Linked DNA regions of Homo sapiens: regions 1, 2, 3, 4 and 6 are each linked to region 5. The links are contacts of gene promoters, found by promoter capture Hi-C in blood cells and fetal thymus (Javierre and others, 2016). All regions are on one chromosome and are shown on one strand. Each heading gives the region's core, a stretch centred on a gene start or on the middle of the fragment in contact. The rest is flanking DNA. Distances are from core to core; before and after follow the strand shown. Region 1 holds the start of SLC25A32 (solute carrier family 25 member 32). Region 2 holds the start of MED30 (mediator complex subunit 30). Region 3 holds the start of RAD21-AS1 (RAD21 antisense RNA 1). Region 4 overlaps UTP23 (UTP23 small subunit processome component). Region 5 holds the start of NUDCD1 (NudC domain containing 1). Region 6 overlaps EIF3H (eukaryotic translation initiation factor 3 subunit H).

Region 1 (3,110 bases), core at 578-3,077, 5.9 Mb before region 5:
CTGAAGACAGACAGCAAGTCATACAGGCCTGCACCTGCAGGCAAGTCTAAAATTCTTCCAATGTTCAAACCATTGTATAACAGGTACTTATAGAGGTAATACGGTGAGGGGTTAAGTGCCAGAGGGTTCCAGAGTTAGATTACCTGGGTTTAAATCCCAGATCCATCTTTACAAACTTGTGACTTGGGCAAGTTAGTCAACTTCTGTTATCCTCATCTGTATAGCAGATATCATAAACTCACAGGATTGTTCCTGTGAATAGATTTACAGGATAATAAATGAGATAATGCATCTAAAGCATAGTTCACTGCCTTGCTCCTAGTAAATACTCGATAAAGATTACTTGTCAATAACATAATTATTTGTGCATGCATCATAAAACTTCATGACATTATATGTCTTTGTGGTGTTTTTTCTAGAGATAATACTCCATAATTTTCGATGATTTTCCTTCATAGAACGGGTTCTTGCTTCCTCTCCAGCTGTCAAAATATTAGCCCTTCTATGGGAAACCCCAAGCCCCAATCTTCCACTGAACCTTAAAGATACACATGGCCATCAGTAATGTAGAATTTTCTTAACGGTTTACCTGTATTTATATTTTGTTTTTGTATTTCTTGATTTTATGTTGTCTAGAATTACCTTTTATATGACTAAGTCTAACGCCTACAATTAAATTCTAAGTTCCCTGAAGGCAAGAACTTTATTAGATACTTCTGTAGCCCATACAGCAGTCTACAAATATTAAGAGAATATAAATCAAGTGAACTGAATTGCCTAATGCTAAAATAAACAACTTCTGTAGATTTAATTCTCAAGGCTGAACTTAACTTGTAATAACTTTATTTGGAAACTATTTTCTGCAATTTCAGTTATCAAAGATCATCTTTGAAACTCTTTCCAGACTTTAGTGTTGAGTTTAACTTCTAAAATGCTTTGTTAATTTCAACATACTCAATTCATCTAATACACTTAAAATAGTATTTCGATTCTAGCTATTTTTTCACAGAAACTTGTACCATTCTACAAATGCCAAAAAACAAACATTCAAGAGAATTCTATTCTAAATCTACTCCCAACCATTCGCTGAAGATTACGCCCTATCCCAATACTAGTCGAGCTGCCAAACCACGTGGGTATGCTAAGATTTCAAAGTTCCTCCAAGAGTGAATGATTTGCACGTGTGAGGACTAAACCTTAAAATGTGACAATCCCTTCTTTATTTTACAAATCAGGCTTTGAATCCCATCTTCTCTGCCAATGAGGATGTTTTTTCTCAGACTTCTCTACATACATGCCCCCTCTCTTAGTCTTGAGGAGCGGGGAAGATCGCAGGCCGACCCCTCCACCAAGCACCATTTCCTCAAATCTAGTTCAGGTTAGCCAACGCGGACAGCAACGCTCCCTTCAACGCTCCTCCTCCCCCTAGAACGGAAAAGACGGAGGAGATCCAGTTCGGGCTGACAGTGAGAGGATGCAGCCCGGTGTCTGGGCGGGCTCTTACCGGCGAAGCGGATCTTCACGAGGTCGAGCGGATGCAGCGCAAGGTTGGATAAGACGCCGCCGCTCACGCCCGCTATCAGGTTCTCATACCGGACGTGGCGGAATACCGTGCTCCACGCCGACGACCCGGACGCCGACTGGCCCTGGCCCGTCATAGGCTCGGGGCCCGTCGACACCACGGCGCCCAGGGCCGCGGAGGTGGGACGCGATGCAGTGGCCGCCACCGTGGCGACGGTCGCCCCTTGTGAGCGCAACCCCACCTCCGGGACCAACGAGAGGACTCTTATGCCCAAGGCGCGTGAGCGAAGCCGGAGACTCTAGTACTGAGGGGGCAAGAACGGGGCACAGACACTACGTCACGCCGGCGGAAAGCGCGATGGAGGGGAGGTCCCAGCCTCTCCCGAGTCTCCGCCCTGCCTCGCCCACAAATGCTCCAGCCCACGGACGCGGAAGCGACTGCACAGCTAAAGAACCGCCCCTTGCTAACGTTTGCCGGCAAAACTACGGAGCGGCGCAGGATCCAGTTGAGCCAGCAGGCCGCCGCTCCGCGAGTCACGTGACTGGAAGTAGTCTGGGAAAAGCGGAAGTCGCCTGTGGGAGGAGGTGGCGGTGGGCGGAACTCCTAGCGGACACCTCGTGGAGTCCGGCCGGAAGAGCAACCGAGATGAAGGTGAAGATGCTGAGCCGGAATCCGGACAATTATGTCCGCGAAACCAAGTTGGACTTACAGAGAGGTAAGATAAGTTGGTAGGGAGAAAGGGACGGTTTCCGCAAGTCGTTGGGTCTAGCCTCGGCTTTCGCGGAGTAAAGCCGGGGGAGGCTGGCACTCTGGTCTGGTTCTTTCTCAGTTACCTTTCGCTAAGGCAAACTTTGTGCTTACGGAGTCGCTGCGGAACTGGATGGATAGCAAGTAAAGTCTGTTCAAGTCCTTTTTCTAAGAATTTCCTCTAGTGGTGAGTGGGAAACAGTTGTCTATAGTGGAGAAAAATTCCAGCTGCTGCTCTGGGATTGTCTTCAGGTTCCTATTACTGAAAAGTGGACTTGAATGAGCCAAACTCGTGGGTTGAAGGGCTGAGAGTTAAACAGGCTTTTAAAACCTTCCTACTGCTCTTCTTGCCGCTTTACTACTTCACATTAGTTGTGGATGTTGGAAGAGACAAAGATGAATTTAAAAGCATCAGTTTTCTCTTACCATCCCTTAAGAAGTTTGATGAAAGAATGGTTAAATGAAATTAATTTATCCTTCCTGGTCTGTTCCCCCGTTAACATGCTAACCACTTATAAATTGTACTTTGTGATACCTAAATGACAAGGGACCAACCATGCGTAAGCAGATTGTTCTAAATAAAGAGAATAACAGGAGCAAAGGTCTTCAGGCAGGAATGAACCTAAGGCATAGAAAGAAGGGCTGTGTCATTAGTTTGAATGAGGAGTAAGCGAGATGAGATGAGGCGAAAACAGTATTTCACTATTTTGGTTGAGTAGGAGATATTATCAACATGTGTGTGAGCATTGCTAATAAGTCTCTGCTCAAAAGATGTTTACAGTTTGTCACAAGGCAGTAATGTTTCTAAAATATAAATTAGATTTGTCACTTGGATTTGGCA
Region 2 (3,169 bases), core at 9-2,508, 8.2 Mb after region 5:
CACCCAGCACATAATAGGTGCTCAGCCAATATTTGTCGAATGGTAATTACCGAAGACCTGCGAATTACTATGTTTAAAATCTCTACCAGGGTTCCTATGACATATTTAGTAACTATTTCCTGGAAAGTCCGTACAATGGAGCATTCAGATACTTCTAAAAAATGCAATGTTTGTGCCTATCACTAATTTTACATTCTTCACTTTTCCCCACTTTGGAGATGAACAGTAAGTGAGAGACATTGTGAGAGACATTTTAATTTCTCTTGCATTTATCATGTCACTCAACAATCATTCAATAAGTATTTATTGATACTTGTGCCAATCACTAGGTGTTGAGAATAAGTGAATAAAATAGTCTGTTTTCATGGAGTTGGCAGTGTGTGTAGATAGGGTGAGATAAAGTCTGAAAGTAAACAAACTGAAAGCTATATAAAATATCAGACAGTAGGCCGGGCGCGGTGGCTTATGCCTGTAATCCCAGCACTTTGGGAGGCCGAGGCGGGCGGATCACGAGGTCAGGAGATCGAGACCATCCCGGCTAACACGGTGAAACCCCGTCTCTACTAAAAATACAAAAAATTTGTCGGGCGTGGTGGCGGGCGCCTGTAGTCCCAGCTACTCGGGAGGCCGAGGCTGGAGAATGGTGTGAACCCGGGAGGCGGAGCTTGCAGTGAGCCGAGGTCGCGCCACTGCACTCCAGCCTGGGTGACAGAGCGAGACTCCATCTCAAAAAGAAAAAGAAAAAAAAATCAGACACTAATAAGAGCCAGAGTCAGAAAGAAGTGTGTGTGTTGATCATTTTTTTTGCTTACAGATACTGGGAAAACTCAAAGAATAAAACATCTGAGCAGGGACCAAGAGCAATCGGGGAGTCCGTATCATGTCACAGAGAAGCGTACAAGCTTAGGAATCTTGTTTTCTGAATTCGAATCGCAGGTTGCCAGTTACACCTGTATGCGACTCAACAAGTACTTTAACCTGTCTCTTAGCTGTTATACTACAAACCTCAGGCTTGTTAAGAGAAAATGCTCCGCAAGGAACTAAACACAGAAGGTTCTAACGCTGAGCCAAGACTGGGAAACGAACTCTGGGAACTCACCCCAGGCTCCCCAAGAACATCGCCCCTCTGGCTGGAGCGCAATTGGTGATTGGCTACTTAACCCGTCCGTCCTTTCCCGCCCAGGGGTCCAATCCAATCCAGCCCGGCTCCGCTCGGAGACAGTTCGCCGAGTGGGCGGTGTCTATGACGTTTTCTGACGTGTTACGTCACAGTGGGCGGAAGTCGCGGCCGCTGTTTTGAAATCGGGCCGCGGGGGGTCTCTCAAGCTGGTTCCAACGCTGAGGCCCCACAGCCTCCCAATTCCGGGCAGACCCCTGACACCTGCTGTCTGGCCCCTTCCGGCCTGAAGCTGCAGCCGCGCCATGTCCACCCCTCCGTTGGCCGCGTCGGGGATGGCGCCCGGGCCCTTCGCCGGGCCCCAGGCTCAGCAGGCCGCCCGGGAAGTCAACACGGCGTCGCTGTGCCGCATCGGGCAGGAGACAGTGCAGGACATCGTGTACCGCACCATGGAGATCTTCCAGCTCCTGAGGAACATGCAGGTAGGAAGGCGGGCGCGCGAGGCCAGGGGGATGCAGCTGGGAGGGAAAGGGCCTCTGGTTTCCTCTTTACGTGGGGCCCGTGGATGTCATCGGGGCTGCCCTGGGCAAACCTTAGGTGTAGGGTCTCCCCCATTCACACTCAAGAGTGTCCCCAAAAGTCGGATTTGTAGAGGTGATGTTTTCCAGACCAGATTTCTGCAGAATTGAAGCCAATTTTTTTTAGATTCAATCGAGCTCTTTAGTTACTCTGTAAACTCTTGCACCTTTCAAGGCAGAGATGGGTCGCACTCCACTTCCCTCTTTAGGTTGCTTTAAATGTTTTTTCCAGCATTTCTTCTGGGGAGGTCCAAGGAGTTGAAGAATTTACATTTTTTTTAAAAAAACAGTCCTCCTTTTTTTGGCATAGTTAATATACAGTAAACTACACTCACCTAAAGTTTTGATATATATGTGTACTGTAGTCTGTATACTTGTGAAATTATCACCACAATCAAAATAGTGTACACATCATCCCAGAAAGTTTCTTCATACCCCTCTGACATCTTTGCTTCCCACCTTCCATCGCTAAGCAACCATTGATCTGCGTTCTGTAATCATAAATTAATTTGCATTTGCTAGGGTTTTATATAAACGGAGTCTACAGTATGTGGGCTTTTTTTTTTGTCTGAGATCCTTCACTAAGAATGCATCAATAATTTCCTTTTTATTGCTGAGTAATGTTCCATTGTATCCATGTATCACCATTTGCCTACCTTTTCTTCTGTTGATGGACATTTGGGTTGTTTCCACTTTTTGGCTGTTGTAAATAATGCTGCTATGAACTTTTGCTGACAAATTTTTGTGTGAACGTATGTGTCATTTCTCTTGGACAGATTCAGGAGTGGAATTGCTGGATCATGCAGTACATGTCTGTTTAATACTTTAAGAAACTTTTCCAAAGTGGCCTGAGCCATTTTACGTCCCGATTATTGCTAGTGGGAATGTAAACATTGCTGTTTGAGGGTTCTAGTTTCTCCTCATCCTCATCAACACCTGTTATGTCTTGATGCTTTCCAAATACTTCTCCCAGTCTATCCTGCCTTTTTATTCTCTTAATACTGTCTTTTGAAGAACAGACATTTTAAATTTTGATGGAATCCAGCTTACTGATTTGTTCTTTTATAGATTTTGGTTTTGCTGTCATACCTAAGAAATCTTTGCCTAACCCAAGGTGACAAAGGGTTTCTGTTTTCTTCTAGAAGTTTTGTACTTTCAAGCTTTATATTTAGGTCTACAACCTATATTTAGTTTTGTGAGTTTTTAAATATGTATACATAGTGGCAGATACGGATCCAAGTTCATTGTTTTGCATTTGGATATCCAGTTGTTCCAGCACCATTTTGCTGACCCATTTTTAATGCTTGCTTATATTACCCACTACATGTAGTAGATATTATTTTTGTTTTACAGATGAAGATTCTGTACTTCAGAGAGATAAAGTGACTTGCCCAAACCTAGTCAGTGGTAGGGTAAATTTGAAACCAAGTTTTCAAAAATCTTACAGCTCTTATTTCTGTGGGTGTCCAAAAAA
Region 3 (3,304 bases), core at 369-2,868, 7.5 Mb after region 5:
GAAGGATCTCTGAAGATATTTCTAACCCTGCACACTAGAAATCTCCTCTGTTTTGGTTCTAACATCCTTTGACCAAGAGTTTTACAATCAGACAGTCGTAGGTTCAAATTAAGCTCCCTCTTTGCTCAGTTGTTTTGTAACGGTGAATAAGTTACTTCTCAACTATAAACTGGGATAATATTCATCAAAAAAGATTATGAAAATTAAATACAAGGGCACACCTAACATAGTGCCACTGCTGATGCGAAAAGTAACTCTGAAGACAATCTTGCAGCAAAACATTAACCAGCCAGTATAATCATGCCTAACAACTCTGGTTTGACATTTAAACTAAAAACACAACCTTATTTCTCAAGAATTAGAAAATTTCCATTCTGTACCAAACTGTAAAAGCGTTTCTTAGAATTTGTATGTTTCACAAAATAATTCACCAGAAATTCTTTTGTAATTCTGACTTGTGTATAAAAAAAAGCACTATGTCTATTAGTTATGCACTGCTGTCACCTCAACTATACAAACTGTTAACTTATTTGAAGATCAGATATGGCGTATGTCCTCATCAATGCCTTTCCAAAAATAATTAGTTGCCTCCGACATTAACAAAGGTATTTAATGACTTCACGATTTGAGAAACCTTCTCCTGCCTGTCTCCAAAATTCTATAGACTCGCACTGCCCGCTGGCATTTACACCCAATTTAAGAAAATAGAAATTTTTGCCTGAAAACCAATTACTCTTCTAACCAGTATAATGACAACAAAGATTAACTTTCCCTTGCAAAAAGAAGCCGATAAACACAAGCCTTTCCCAGAAACTCTTCGCACAAACGCTGTTTTTTTTTTCACGCTGAAGACACTAACAAATCAGAGTGACCAAGTAAATCCCCCAGGGTTTCCCTCTTACAAATTTGAAGAAGGCCGCTAAGTCTGGCAGCACAACCCGACAGTGTCACCCCACACTATCAAAGCGGATCATTCGCAAAAAGCCTTTTTCAGCGACGAAAAGGGCATCAAGCATTTATCAGAAACACACACCTCCCCCAGAGCGTCTCTACAACACCCGATATCCTTAATCACTTTAAAGAATGATCAGAAAAGTTCAGGGGAAAACCAATTATGCAAATATCCTTGGAAAAAGAAGCAACTTCCCTCCGTCTCTTTTTCCACGCGTCTGTGAAATATTCAGCATTCCCAACGTAAAAATTATCTTTTTAAAACGGGAGGGCAGCAGCAGTCACTGGCCGAGGGGCACCCGCCGACCCCCCGCCCCACCCCGCCCAGCCCCACCAGCTCCGCACTTTCTTGAGCCCCGCACCCGAGTTCGGCGGAAGGTTGCTGCTCCCGGGGCTGGCACCGCGGGCGCCGGGCCCGCCACCGCCTCCTCCCAGACAGCCATTTTTACCCGCGGAGTAGGCGGCCCGGTCCCCAGAGCGGGCTCGTTCAAACCTCCTCCCCTCCCTCCGCAGCCCAGGGTTTCCCCGGCCTCCTGGGGGACGTGAGATGGACCTGCAGGGTAACAGCCTTTGTAGATCTCAGAATGGATCAGAATCATTTGTTACCGAACAAGCGATGATGCGGGCCCAAGCTGCATGGGTCCGGGCCGAGGGCGGGCCCGGGGCGAAGGGGGCTGGGCGGGTGGCGCCGCCGCTTGGGCGCCGGGAGGGTGGCAGCACGCGTGGGCGCGGCGAGGGCTGCCTTCTCCCTCGCCCTCCCGCCCCCAGGAGTCCGGCTCCCCGACGGCAGAGCGGCGGGGAAAGGGTGGGGGGAGGGAGCTGGAGGAAAAGAAGGGGTCGGCCGAGTCTCTTACCTTGCTCTCCGCTGGGAGTTGGGCGGGCTGGGTGGCCCGGGGAGGGGAAAAGGGTCGGGGGAGGGGGTGGGGAAAGGGGGGAGCCCTTGCGAGGTGTAGCTTCCGAGCAGCTCCCGCCGCCGCCACAGCCGGCGCCTCCTTTCCGATTCACTCAAACAAACAAGATGGCTGCCGTTACGCCGCGGCTCTTCCTGCCGCCCAAATCCTCGGTTCAAATCGGCAGGATGTTTACGGTCAAAATGGTACCTGTGCGCCTGCGCAGCCAGCCCAAGCCCCCCCCTCCCCCCAGAAGGAGCGGCGCAGGCGCAATGACTATTTCCTTTTCTTTGGAACCCGCCCTCTGTTTGTGGAGTCCACAACTGAGCAAGCGCAAAGGTGATTCTCTTGCGAGGGTCTTTGAGAGTTGCGGTGTTAGCCAATAGCGTAAGATAGCGCACGCGCAGTGCTTTCCAGTGCGGTGAATATTTGCGTTTAGCTTTATTCTTGTGCTTGTTTTAAAGAAAAAAGCTGTCGTGGTGCAATTTTGTGTGCCCCCACCAAAAAATTCATTTTATGGCTCTATAGGGATGAAAGTAACATAAAAACCTCAAACTAATTCCATAAAATATAGAGGTTCATTTATTCAGTCAACCTATATTATAGAGGGTCTTCTGTTTGCTACACGTTGGGCTCTGGATATAATGATTAATATAACAGAGATAATAACTGCCTTTTGGAAATTTTCAGTATTGCTTGGGAGGAATCTTAAAATTTCTTATCTTAAAAGACTTACTTGTACCACGAAGAAATTTACTTTTGTTTTTATTGTAGAGATCTTTCCAGTGATGAAAGAAATTGAAGAGGACACACAAAAATGGAAATATATTCCATGTTCATGGATTGGAAGAATCAATATTGTTAAAATTTCCATACTACCCAGAGCAATCTACAGATTCAATGTAATCCCTATCAAAATATCAATGACATTCTTCACAGAAAGAGGAAAAAAATCCTAAAATTTATATGGAACCACAATAAGACCAAGAATAGCCAAAGCAATCCTGAGCAAAAGAATAAAGCTGGAGGCATCACATTACCTGACTTCAAATTATACTACAAAGTGATAGTAAACAAAACAGCATGGTGCTGGCATAAAAACAGACACATAGACTAACGGAACAGAATAGAGGACCTATAAATAAATCAATACATATACAGTCAACTAATTTCTGACAAAGCTGCCAAGAACATACGTTGGGAAAAGGATGGTCTCTTCCAAAAATTGTTCTGGAAAAACTAGATAACTATATGTAGAAGAATGAAACAGATCACTATCTTTTGCCATATTAAAAAAATCAAAACAAAATGGCTTGAAGACTGGAATCTAAGATTTGAAACTATTGAAACTACTAGAAGAAAACGTTAGGGAAATGCTCCAGAACCAAATATTTCTTAGTAAGACCTTAAAAGCATAGGCAAGCAAAGCAAAAATGGACAAATGGGATCATGCCAAGCTAAGA
Region 4 (3,064 bases), core at 122-2,621, 7.4 Mb after region 5:
AAGCCTCACAGTGAACCTGTGAGTTACCATCTTTGATGTCCAGGGCAAAAAGTCAGTACTTGAGATTAAGGAATCTGCCCAAGCACATTTGTTTATTCAACTCGCTTTATTAAGTACCTCCTATATGCCACATACTGCTCCCTCATGGCCAGTAAAGTGCATAAGTCAGTCTGCAGTGTGTGTTTTCACTCTAGGTCTGATGTTTCCCCACTTCATTGAAATGTGGGAACACTTAGGATGGAAGCTTGTCGGGATGAAGAGGAGAGAGGAGAGAATTGTGACAGATTTCAGATAACATTTGAGCCCATTCACTTGTTCAGTTCTGAGAGGAAGAACTATTTTGAATGACAGAAAAGAATGACACTTCTTGTTGTGGAGACCTCTTCACACGAAATGGAGTTATGAAATGCCTGGGAAAGAGGTTGCAGCACAGAATATATTTGGGAGTGAAACTAGGAAGAAGGCAAATTGAGGCTAGGCCATGAAGAACTATTAAGAAATTTAGTAGTTTTTTCATTGTAGAATATTTACTTTTAAAAAGCAAAAAAAGAAAATTAAAATGACTCATAATACCACTACTCACGAATAATCACTGTTAACATGTGCAGTGTCATCCATCCAGTTCTTTATACACACTCACACAAGCACAAGAATGGACTTTTAAGCCAGGCAAGGTGGCTCACACTTGTAATCCTAGTAGCTACACAGGAGGCTGAGACAGGAGGGTTGCCTGAGTCTAGGAGTTTGAGGTGAGCCTGAGCAACGTAGGAAACCCCCATCTCTAACTACAGCCATAACAAAGTATGGGCTTTTTCTGTGTATACTGTGTTAATAGTCTCCTTTTCCTCACATACGATTACTTAATGAACAGCTATCTGTATTTGTTCAGAATTTCTCAAGCAGGGTCTCGGCTGGGTTACAGATACCCCCAAAGTTTTGATCCCCTTAGTCTTTAGGGCTGTCTAACAAATCCTTCAGTAGTCTTTGCTCCTGAATTGATTGCTTTTGTCTACAAGCAATTTGTCCATATACTCCTGTGTGCCATAGAAATATTAACATTTTAAATATAGTGCTATGATATTAAAAAGGTTGAGAAGTGCCACATAAAATTATATTCTACAGCAATTTTTCTAACAAATTTATTTTAACTCTGGAATTTTTCAGACAACTCAAAGGTAGAATAATATAATGAAACCTCTCTCCAGCTTTTGCAGTTATTAACATGGCCAATCTTGTTGAATCCCTCACCTCTCCTTACTGATGGGTTGCTTTGGAGCATATTATTTATCACTTCTTTGGCATGTATCTTGAAAAGATAAAGAAGGCTTTTAAAAATCAGTATTCAAACTAAATACATATATTACATTTGATTTATATGTCACTTAAGTTTTTTAAAAAAATTTATTTTTGAGATGGAGTCTCACTTTATTGCCCAGGCTGGAGTGCAGTGGTGCGATCATGGCTCACTGCAGCCTCCGCCTCCCGGGTTCAAGTGATTTCCCTACATCAGCCTCCCAAGTAGCTGAGATTACAGATGTGTGACACCACGTCCTACTAATTTTTGTATTTTTTAGCAGAGACAATGTTTCACCACGTTGACCAGGCTCGTCTTGAACTCCTGACCGCAGGTGATCCACCCACCTCGGCCCCCAAAGCATGGGGATTACAGGCATGAGCCACCATGCCAGGCAGTTTTTAAAAATTTTGGCAGTTTCCCCTCCCTTTAAATTTTGCAATTTATGTTTTTAAGAAATCAGGTCATTCGTTTTTCAGTGGAATATATTTCTTGGCCACTAGTAGTTAGGTCTCTACAGAGTTTACTGATATTCAGGTTTGAAGATGTGTGGAGTTAATTGATGAAGTAGAACAGCAGAATGTTATCAGGCCTGGGTTTTATTTTAGAAAAGATAACTGCAGTGATGTGAAGGGTAAATTGGAGAAACAAGAGAGCAAAGGCATGAATCTGTTTTGCGGTTGTTTAATCAAGAAGTAAGGGGAGCCTAAACCTGGGAGAGGAAAGGCAGGAACCCAAGGGTTCTCCAAAGAAACGCTACGTTACTGAGATAGATAGGTTGAGCAGCTGATGGCATAGGAGTATGGGTGAAGAAGGGCAGGAAGGTCAAATGTGATTTCTGATTTCTATCTAGGGTGTCTGGGAAAATAGTAATTTCAAAGAGATAGCAAGTCTTGGAGGATAAATTTGGATACAGGAAAGTGGTTTGATCTTAGACATGGTGAATTTGAAGAGTTGATAGCAGGACATCCACAGGCTGGCAGTACTCAAAATAGAGGTCAAGTCTAATGACTAAAGCAAGCAAAATCTTCTTGAAACAGAAAGATGATAAAGGAGATGAAGCAAGAAAGAATCTGGCAAATGCTGGCTAGGGTTGAGGAACTCTTATGACTAAATGTTTTTTTAAAAACAACTTGATGATGTGAGAAGTTTTACTGTTCTGAATTGAAAATGTTTTGAAAGTATACCAATTTGTACTTGAAGCAGAAGCTTATTACGCTATGGTTGGGACAAGGGAGCTGTTGTCAAACTGCAAGTCTCGGTACCACTTGCTAGTTACTTGAACTTTGGCATGTTACTTGAAATCTCAGAATGGGGTGCTCTAAAATAAGGATAATTTCAAGGTAAGCGACCTAACTTCATAGGGTTACTTTGAGATTAATCAAGAATTTATGTAAAGAGCAATTTGCATACTACATGGAACATAATAAGTGCTCAGTTAATTTTAACTGTTGTTCTTCCTACTTGGTAAATGCATTTTTCAAGTGATCTTTTAAAGTAAATGGTTACCAGATGACAAATTTAGATTGTAACAGCATAGTTTTATTTTAAGAAAAAATCGACTATTGTTTTTTACACCTTATGTAAACAAGTGAAATGTATCTGCTATAATTTTTCTTTTCAGATGTGTGTTAAAAGAGCTAGAAACATTGGGAAAGGACTTATATGGGGCAAAACTGATTGCACAAAAATGCCAAGTTCGAAATTGTCCTCATTTCAAGAATGCAGTGAGTGGATCAGAATGTCTGCTTTCCATGGTTGAAGAGGGAA
Region 5 (3,494 bases), core at 737-3,236:
GTAGTGAACAAAAGAAAAACATCACTGTTTTCAAGGAACTCATAGTCTAGTGGAGGAAACAGACAACAAATCAAGATAGAATTTAAAAGGCCGATAAGTACGTCTTATGGAGAATGCAATGACGAAGCCCAAAAGTGAAGGCAGGAAGGCTAGTCAGGAGGCTACTAGAGTTCAGGTAAGAGATAACTCTGATTTGGATTAGGGTGGAGGCCTAGAGATATCAAAATGTGGAGCTGACCGGACTTGCTACCAAGCAGACAGTGGCTAAAAGAAATAAACCCCAAATGACTCTGGCACAAGTGTCTCTTGGTACCAACCTGGGCTAGTCTAGTCGGCTAAAGGATAAGAGACCACACGGAGAAAAGTCAAGAGGAGACCATGTGAAAGAATCTTAAACAAGCTTATAGTCTGAGACCCTACCCCCACCCTCCAAACATATGAGGAAGTCCAGCCAAATGAGCAGAGCTTCCCAGCAGATCCATTACTGAACAAGGATGCATCAATGAGCCCAACTAGGACTAGAAGAACCACTCAGCTGACCCGTAGACTTGTGAGCAATAATAACTGCTTCTTGTTTTGAGACACTGAATTTTGGCTTCACTTTCTAATGCACTAACTAAACATGGTGATACCATCTACTGACATGGGGTGACTGGAAGAAACACGGTGGCAAAGAGGAAAAGGAAAAAAATAAAAAGAAAAATCAAGCTTATCCTCTCTCATCCTAGTCAACTCTTAACCTACCCTTCAAAGCTCAACTTAGATATTAACTCCTCCAAGACGCCTTCCCAGATCCCCAGACTAGTTTAGGAAAGATATTCAAGTACTACCATTGTATTTTGTACATATCCCTATCACTGCCTTCCCATATTGTTTTACAATTATCTGTTTACAATTTTCTTCCTAACTAGCTAATAGTCCTCTTTTGTTACGGAAGGTGTCTTGTTCATTTTGATATTATCAGGACGTAACACAAAACAGGTACTCGGTAAATATTTCTGAATTTAATAAATCAATTAGCATAAACTTATTTTATACTTTAATGTCTGTTATTATAATTAACTGTAGATCACTATTTCTCAAAGTGTGATCTCTGAAAACATGCATCAGAATCAGCAGGGGTGTGAATTTTAAAATGCAGATCTCTGGGCTCTATCATAACGAAAATGCCGTTAAGTTGTAAAAACAAGAGTAAGGATATTCTACCAGCTACAGATAAAGCAAGGAGTAGCAGTGTGGGAGTAAATCCACTTTTCCTCACTATCTTCTAGAGATGTTCTCTACCAGAGTTCTTAATGTGCCAGGAACTGAGTAATTAAAAATGCTATGACTGGAATGTAGTTTCTCTTCTAAGAAACGGCTCTCGGTCAGAGGAAACAGGAACTGGGGGTCCTCCAAGGAGGTGTGGTTTCTCAACGCACACGTTCACAAGCGATGCTCCAGGAGGAAGGAATGTTCTCAGCGTCCCCCGAAACAGAAGCCAGGCTGTGGACACACAGCAGCCAGAGCCCCAGGCACTACCCGCACGCCAGCCCTCAGACCTCAGACCTCAGAGGCTGGGCTGCTGACGGAGGGGGCCCAGGGTCCCGTTACCGAAGAGCGCGCGAAGGCGGCTCCCACCGGGTTCTGGGATGGGCATCATTCCCCAGAAGCAGCGGCCTCCGTGAGTCCACGCAAGCCGCCACGGTGGCTTCGCTTGCCAGTCAGAAAGAAAGAAATTGCGGGAAGGGTCAGGCCGGAGGCAGCCGAAAGGGGAAAGGAACGGAGTACGAAGGGCGCCGCCGCTTCCCACCTGCGTCAAGCTCCAGCTGGTAACAAGGCAGCGGCTCAAGAGAGAGCTTGTAACCCTCGAAGCGGGGATCCAACAGAGGTCTCTTCACCCGTAGGGAGCAATTAGCCGCCACCTCCATCGCTTTCCAGGGCCGCAGCGTGAGAATTAATAAAGCCCTTGTTGAAAGGTCCGCGCTTCACGCCTCGCACAGAGACTGGGAAGCGGCGTGGTTCCCATCCCAGAAAACACTGCGGTGCGAACTGCCTTCTGGGAAATGTAGTGTCCGTGAAAAAGTTGAGACTGTTGCATGCTGGGCTATGTAGTTCTCCTGGTACTTAACGCGCGCGCGACGGCAAGGTCTGAACTCTGTTACCCAGAGGCCCTAGCAACCAGGAGGCGGCCCGCGCTGGTTAAATTCTCACATTATAGGCAGGGTGGCGAGACCCCGCCCCGGAAATGCGTGTTCTAGCTTTCTGTGTGCTTAGGTGCCCGAGCTACTGAGGGTCTAAGTCCGGGCAGCCGAAGAGTGTGGTAGGTAACGGTCCTCAGCGCAAGGGTCATTTCGTCGCTGGGAAGGGACGGCCCTCGCCCGCGGTGATGGTGGTGAGCTATGCCCGTGGTCCTCAGGGCCGGGACCCGGGCCCAGCCCAGGCTCCTTTCGATGTACTGTCTTTCGTTAGCGTCCCCGACCCGCGCTCGCGGGCCTGTAGGGCTCTCCGACAGGGCGTGCTACCGGAGTTGGCCTGAAACCAGTCCTCGCTTTGTTTTCTGGCTCCTCCTCTCCCGCCTCTCCCGCTGTCTCCGCCCTGTTCTATTTTCCCTAAGAATGTCTGAACTGGGAGGGATACCCTAGCGCCCTTGTTTTACCAGTGAGAAAACTGAGGCCTTTAAGAATTAAGTGACTTGTCCAAGGTCACTATCCGTATTTTAGGAGCCAAGACGAGATCAAGTTCAATATTCCAGGAGTGGTACTGACTAGACCTTGTAGTTATTTTGAAAATGTTAGCCTCCAATTACAAAAGCAAGCATTTCCTAGTTCTCACTCAACTTCTCCTTTTCCCTGTTCCTCTCAAAAAAGAAAAAAAAAATCAACTCTGGTAACTCATTGCCAGTCTGAATTTTCAATAGGCCAGATGGAAGACAACAAAAGTAATCTCAAGTTAGTGACAGATTAGGTGGGAAAACGTTAGTTTACGCCAAGTTTTATTTAATTTAAACTTTTAAGTGGCTTTAACGCTTTCAAAACCTAACTTTCCTCTTCTTTCAACATCATTTTGGTTTGGGTTGTCTGTTTTTACTGACAATTGAGGACTTTGTAAGTTAGGAATTAGTTTGAGATTTGTTTTCTTCTTATCCCACCAGCAGTGTGTGTGTAAACACACACATCCACACACTTAGGTTTAGCAGTTGTAATTGTGGGTTCATCCTAGTGAAGAGTAAAGCAAAACACTTAGAGCCTTATCTAGTAATTTTATTTTTTTTGATTAATTAATTTTTTTTTTTTTTTTTGAGACAGAGTCTTGCCCTGTCACCCAGGCTGGAGTGCAGCAGCGCAATGTCGGCTCACTGCAACCTCTGTCTCCTGGGTTCAAGCGATTCTCCTGCCTCAGCCTCCTGAGTAGCTGGGATTACAGACACCTGCCACCAAGCCCAGCTTATTTTTCTATTTTTAGTAGAGACGGGGTTTCACCATCTTGGTCAGGCTGGTCTTGAACTCCTGACC
Region 6 (3,349 bases), core at 829-3,328, 7.4 Mb after region 5:
TTCAGCCTTCAAAAGGGTTATCATCTCAATGAGAAGGGGAAAATATATTAACAGTAAATCACTAACAGTATGGATCACATACCAAGGTGAATGATACAAGCTGTCATTAAAAAGCTCAGAGAAAGGAAGAGAGCAAGCTTCTTCTCAAACAGTAAAATGCTATAAATCACCTGATTGTGTAGGTCAGGAGAGGGGCCTGAGATTCTGTGATACGTATGTCTGCATTTCTAACAAACTCAAGTGTAGCCAACATTGCTCATCTTACTGGACATGGATCATACTTTGAATAGCAAGGTCTAATGAACATAAGAAAGGTAAAATTCAAATGTTCTAGGGAACAAAGTGGGTTCAACATGAAAAGTTTAACGGGAAGAATTAGCTTGATCTTGTCTAGGAACAATGAGACCACCTGACAGAATGAAGACCCATTCTTTCTTTATTTTTGTTTTTTTTCTTTTAACTCATCTGTATTTGTTACAACTTTAAGCAGAATGTGACTCAGGCACTACATTTCCATCCACAAGACTAGCTCTGAGTTATTTTTGAACAGCTTTACGACATGCTTAGGTAGGCTTATAACTTTGCTCCTCCAAATGATACTTTTCTTTGGAAAACAAGCCCTGTGGAGGGCTTACTTTTCTTTGGAAAACAAGCCCTGTGGAGGGACTGCTACATTACAGATACAGAGGAAGTGATGAAACAGGTCTAAAGGTAGGAAAGGAAGGGTTCAAAAATACAAGAAAAATTGGTCTTGGCCACTATCAATGTGCCAGGAAGGAACAAATGTGTTAAAACATCAGGCTAAACATAGGATGAGATTAATCTCTGGGTTCATCTACATCTATATATGACTGAGAATGGTCATGAGAGTCGGGACTGGGTTCTACCTTGCTCACCTATATAATATCTTATATAGGTTACTGCAATATACCCCAGCATGTAGCAGGGCTAGACCTGGCATGTGGTCGGCAATCAATAAATATTTGTTAAATGAATGAAGAACAGAATACATCTGGAGTATACAGATTCAAGTTAAACTATATGGAGAATTTTTAAAAAAACAGAGTAAGTCGATTAAGTCACATTTTTTATTCAATATGTGATGATGAAAGAGAACAATTTCAAAGAGAAAGAACTTCATGAACAAAAGCAAGGTCATGCTTACTGCTTTGAATAAGGATGTGACTCTAGGTCTGTCTTTAGCATGACTTTTTTTTTTTTTTTTTTTTTTCTGAGACGGAGTCTCGCTCTGTCGCCCAATCTGGAGTGCAGTGGTGCAATCTCGGCTCACTGCAAGCTCCGCCTCCCCGGTTCATGCCATTCCCCTGCCTCAGCCTCCTGAGTAGCTGGGACTACAGGCACCCGCCACCACGCCCGACTAATTTTTTGTATTTTTAGTAGAGACAGGGTTTCACCATGTTAGCCAGGACGGTCTTGATCTCCTGACCTCGTGTGATCTGCCTGCCTTGGCCTCCCAAAGTGCTGGGATTACAGGCGTGAGCCACCACACCTGGCCTTTAGCATGACTTATTAAAGAAAAAACTAAGTAGTCTGAGGGGCTGGAATGTACAGTTCCTACAAAGCTTGGAAAGAAAGGAAATAAACCTGAACATAAATGCAAGAAACAAGGACAACATTTTGGTCCTTCAATTCAATGGAAAGTCACTGAAAACATCTAAGGAAAGAAGTTAAAATCTGAATGTTCACGTTAAATAAACGTTTTAATAAAAGTATGAGGCCGGGCACGGTGGCTCACGCCTGTAATCCCAGCACTTTGGGAGGCCGAGGCGGGCGGATCACGAGGTCAGGAGATCGAGACCATCCCGGCTAAAACGGTGAAACCCCGTCTCTACTAAAAATACAAAAAATTAGCCGGGCGTAGTGGCAGGCGCCTGTAGTCCCAGCTACTTGGGAGGCTGAGGCAGGAGAATGGCGTGAACCCGGGAGGCGGAGCTTGCAGTGAGCCGAGATTGCGCCACTGCACTCCAGCCTGGGCGACAGAGCGAGACTCCGTCTCAAAAAAAAAATAAAATAAAATAAAATAAAATAAAATAAAAGTATGAATGGTAGACTGAAGAAGGCAGGGGAAAACAATATTAAAATAACCTGCATAAGATATTAGAACATAAATTAGTATAAATAATAAAATGGAATACATACTCATTCATTTATCCTACTTTGTGAATTAACAGGTTCAGCACTGGAGATAAAACAGGTGAAAAAGCATAGTCCCTGCCCTCAGTAGCATACATTCTGATGAGGAAAACAAAGAAGAAAACAAACAAGATAGTTACAGGCTGTGGAAAATTCTAGAAATATAGGGTGCTGTGATGGAAAGTAAGGAGAAGAACAAGTCTATAATTCTATTTTGTACATGTTAAATATGAGATGCCTATGAGATATCCAAATAGTGACGTCAAACAGGCAATGGGTATTCAAAAGAGGCATTCAAGAGCCATTACTGGCAGAAATATAAATCTAGGACTTATTAGAATATAAATATTTAAAGCCGTGAGCACAGATAAGAATACCTTAAAGAATACTACTATAATTACTGCAAATAAAGCAGCAGCAAAGCTTAAATGGTGACTTATTCTGTCCCAGACATTGTTCTAGTTATTGACATATATTCAATCCATTTAAAGTCTCAAAACAATTCAGATGAGGAAAATGAGGCACAAAGACTTGCCCAATGTCATGCAGCAAATTTCAGAGCTGGGATTCAAATCCAAGCAGTCTGGCTCCAGAGCATGTACTTTTATCAACTTCGTTACACTACCTATGTCAAGCAGAGACTAAAAGAAAAGCCAAAACCTAAACCATGAGGCACTCCAATATGCACAGATGGAGAAGAAACATAAAAGGAAAGGAGTAAGTGGCCTAAAAGGAAGGATAGTGATTGACTGGGGTCACACACCAATAAGAACCCTCAGGATTCAGGTATGAAAGCAAAAGAAAGAAACCATAAACCATGAAAATTGATAGGGATAGTGGCAATCATTTTGTGGATGAGAAAATGTACCTTTGGAGTAAAACAATCATAGAAGTGTTGTTAGTTACTGGTGGATGCAGACTGGAATGCATGTCTCCTGATTACCAGGAGCACTGAAGTGCTCTTTCTACAATTCCAATCTACATTAGCAAAGTTAGCATTCGAAATGATTTGAGAAACATTAATAAGGATGAGAGTGGTAAAGACACAGTAATCTGAGTGTTTACGATGACACAGGTACTATACTAAACACTTTAAATACCTCGGAATTTCATTCTCACAACCCTTATGAGTTACTACTTTATCATCATCCCCATTTTACAAAGGATACACCTGAGGCCTAGAAAATTTAATAAC

The links. The method cuts DNA at HindIII sites, captures the fragments that hold promoters and counts their contacts. A CHiCAGO score of 5 or more calls a contact.
Region 1: a contact is called between the fragment with the promoter of SLC25A32 here and the fragment with the promoter of NUDCD1 in region 5, in 2 of 17 cell types (non-activated CD4 T cells and total CD4 T cells). The highest score is 6.6, in non-activated CD4 T cells.
Region 2: the fragment with the promoter of MED30 here is called in contact with the fragment with the promoter of NUDCD1 in region 5 in 2 of 17 cell types (activated CD4 T cells and naive CD8 T cells); the score reaches 6.6 in activated CD4 T cells.
Region 3: the fragment with the promoter of RAD21-AS1 here is called in contact with the fragment with the promoter of NUDCD1 in region 5 in 6 of 17 cell types (naive CD8 T cells, naive CD4 T cells, non-activated CD4 T cells and 3 more); the score reaches 15.2 in naive CD8 T cells.
Region 4: a fragment that was not itself captured here is called in contact with the fragment with the promoter of NUDCD1 in region 5 in 3 of 17 cell types (non-activated CD4 T cells, total CD4 T cells and naive CD4 T cells); the score reaches 19.6 in non-activated CD4 T cells.
Region 6: a contact is called between a fragment that was not itself captured here and the fragment with the promoter of NUDCD1 in region 5, in 1 of 17 cell types (total CD4 T cells). The highest score is 7.9, in total CD4 T cells.

The regions. Positions count from the first base shown.
Region 1 is chr8:103,413,280-103,416,389 of GRCh38, forward strand. It overlaps SLC25A32 (solute carrier family 25 member 32), which reads right to left and starts at 1,828. Exons shown (of 7, transcript NM_030780.5): 1 at 1,505-1,828. The coding sequence starts at 1,658. It overlaps DCAF13 (DDB1 and CUL4 associated factor 13), which reads left to right and starts at 2,107. Exons shown (of 11, transcript NM_015420.7): 1 at 2,107-2,237. The coding sequence starts at 2,168. RefSeq lists enhancers at 1,494-2,115, 1,849-2,188. The HindIII fragment of the contact is 9,226 bases long and covers 1-3,110 here.
Region 2 is chr8:117,519,455-117,522,623 of GRCh38, forward strand. MED30 (mediator complex subunit 30) reads left to right here and starts at 1,259. Exons shown (of 4, transcript NM_080651.4): 1 at 1,259-1,599. The coding sequence starts at 1,423. It overlaps LOC105375716 (a long non-coding RNA gene), which reads right to left and starts at 1,266. Exons shown (of 7, transcript XR_928569.3): 1 at 1,100-1,266. The HindIII fragment of the contact is 1,953 bases long and covers 901-2,853 here.
Region 3 is chr8:116,872,806-116,876,109 of GRCh38, forward strand. RAD21-AS1 (RAD21 antisense RNA 1) reads left to right here and starts at 1,619. Exons shown (of 2, transcript NR_033886.1): 1 at 1,619-2,180; 2 at 2,616-3,304. RAD21 (RAD21 cohesin complex component) reads right to left here and starts at 1,971. Exons shown (of 14, transcript NM_006265.3): 1 at 1,806-1,971. MIR3610 (microRNA 3610) reads right to left here and starts at 1,995; the gene lies at 1,923-1,995. RefSeq lists silencers at 1,279-1,328, 1,489-1,808 and an enhancer at 1,919-1,968. The HindIII fragment of the contact is 5,133 bases long and covers 1-3,304 here.
Region 4 is chr8:116,767,274-116,770,337 of GRCh38, forward strand. UTP23 (UTP23 small subunit processome component) reads left to right here. Exons shown (of 3, transcript NM_032334.3): 2 at 2,919-3,064. Among named protein-coding and RNA genes, the nearest start is that of UTP23, 2.3 kb to the left of the region's middle. The HindIII fragment of the contact is 2,259 bases long and covers 243-2,501 here.
Region 5 is chr8:109,332,101-109,335,594 of GRCh38, forward strand. NUDCD1 (NudC domain containing 1) reads right to left here and starts at 1,987. Exons shown (of 10, transcript NM_032869.4): 1 at 1,793-1,987. The coding sequence starts at 1,910. ENY2 (ENY2 transcription and export complex 2 subunit) reads left to right here and starts at 2,247. Exons shown (of 5, transcript NM_020189.6): 1 at 2,247-2,374. The coding sequence starts at 2,369. RefSeq lists enhancers at 1,679-1,728, 1,859-1,908, 2,091-3,013, 2,279-2,528. The HindIII fragment of the contact is 6,990 bases long and covers 707-3,494 here.
Region 6 is chr8:116,749,195-116,752,543 of GRCh38, forward strand. The region is part of intron 1 of EIF3H (eukaryotic translation initiation factor 3 subunit H); the gene reads right to left. Among named protein-coding and RNA genes, the nearest start is that of EIF3H, 5.0 kb to the right of the region's middle. The HindIII fragment of the contact is 994 bases long and covers 1,582-2,575 here.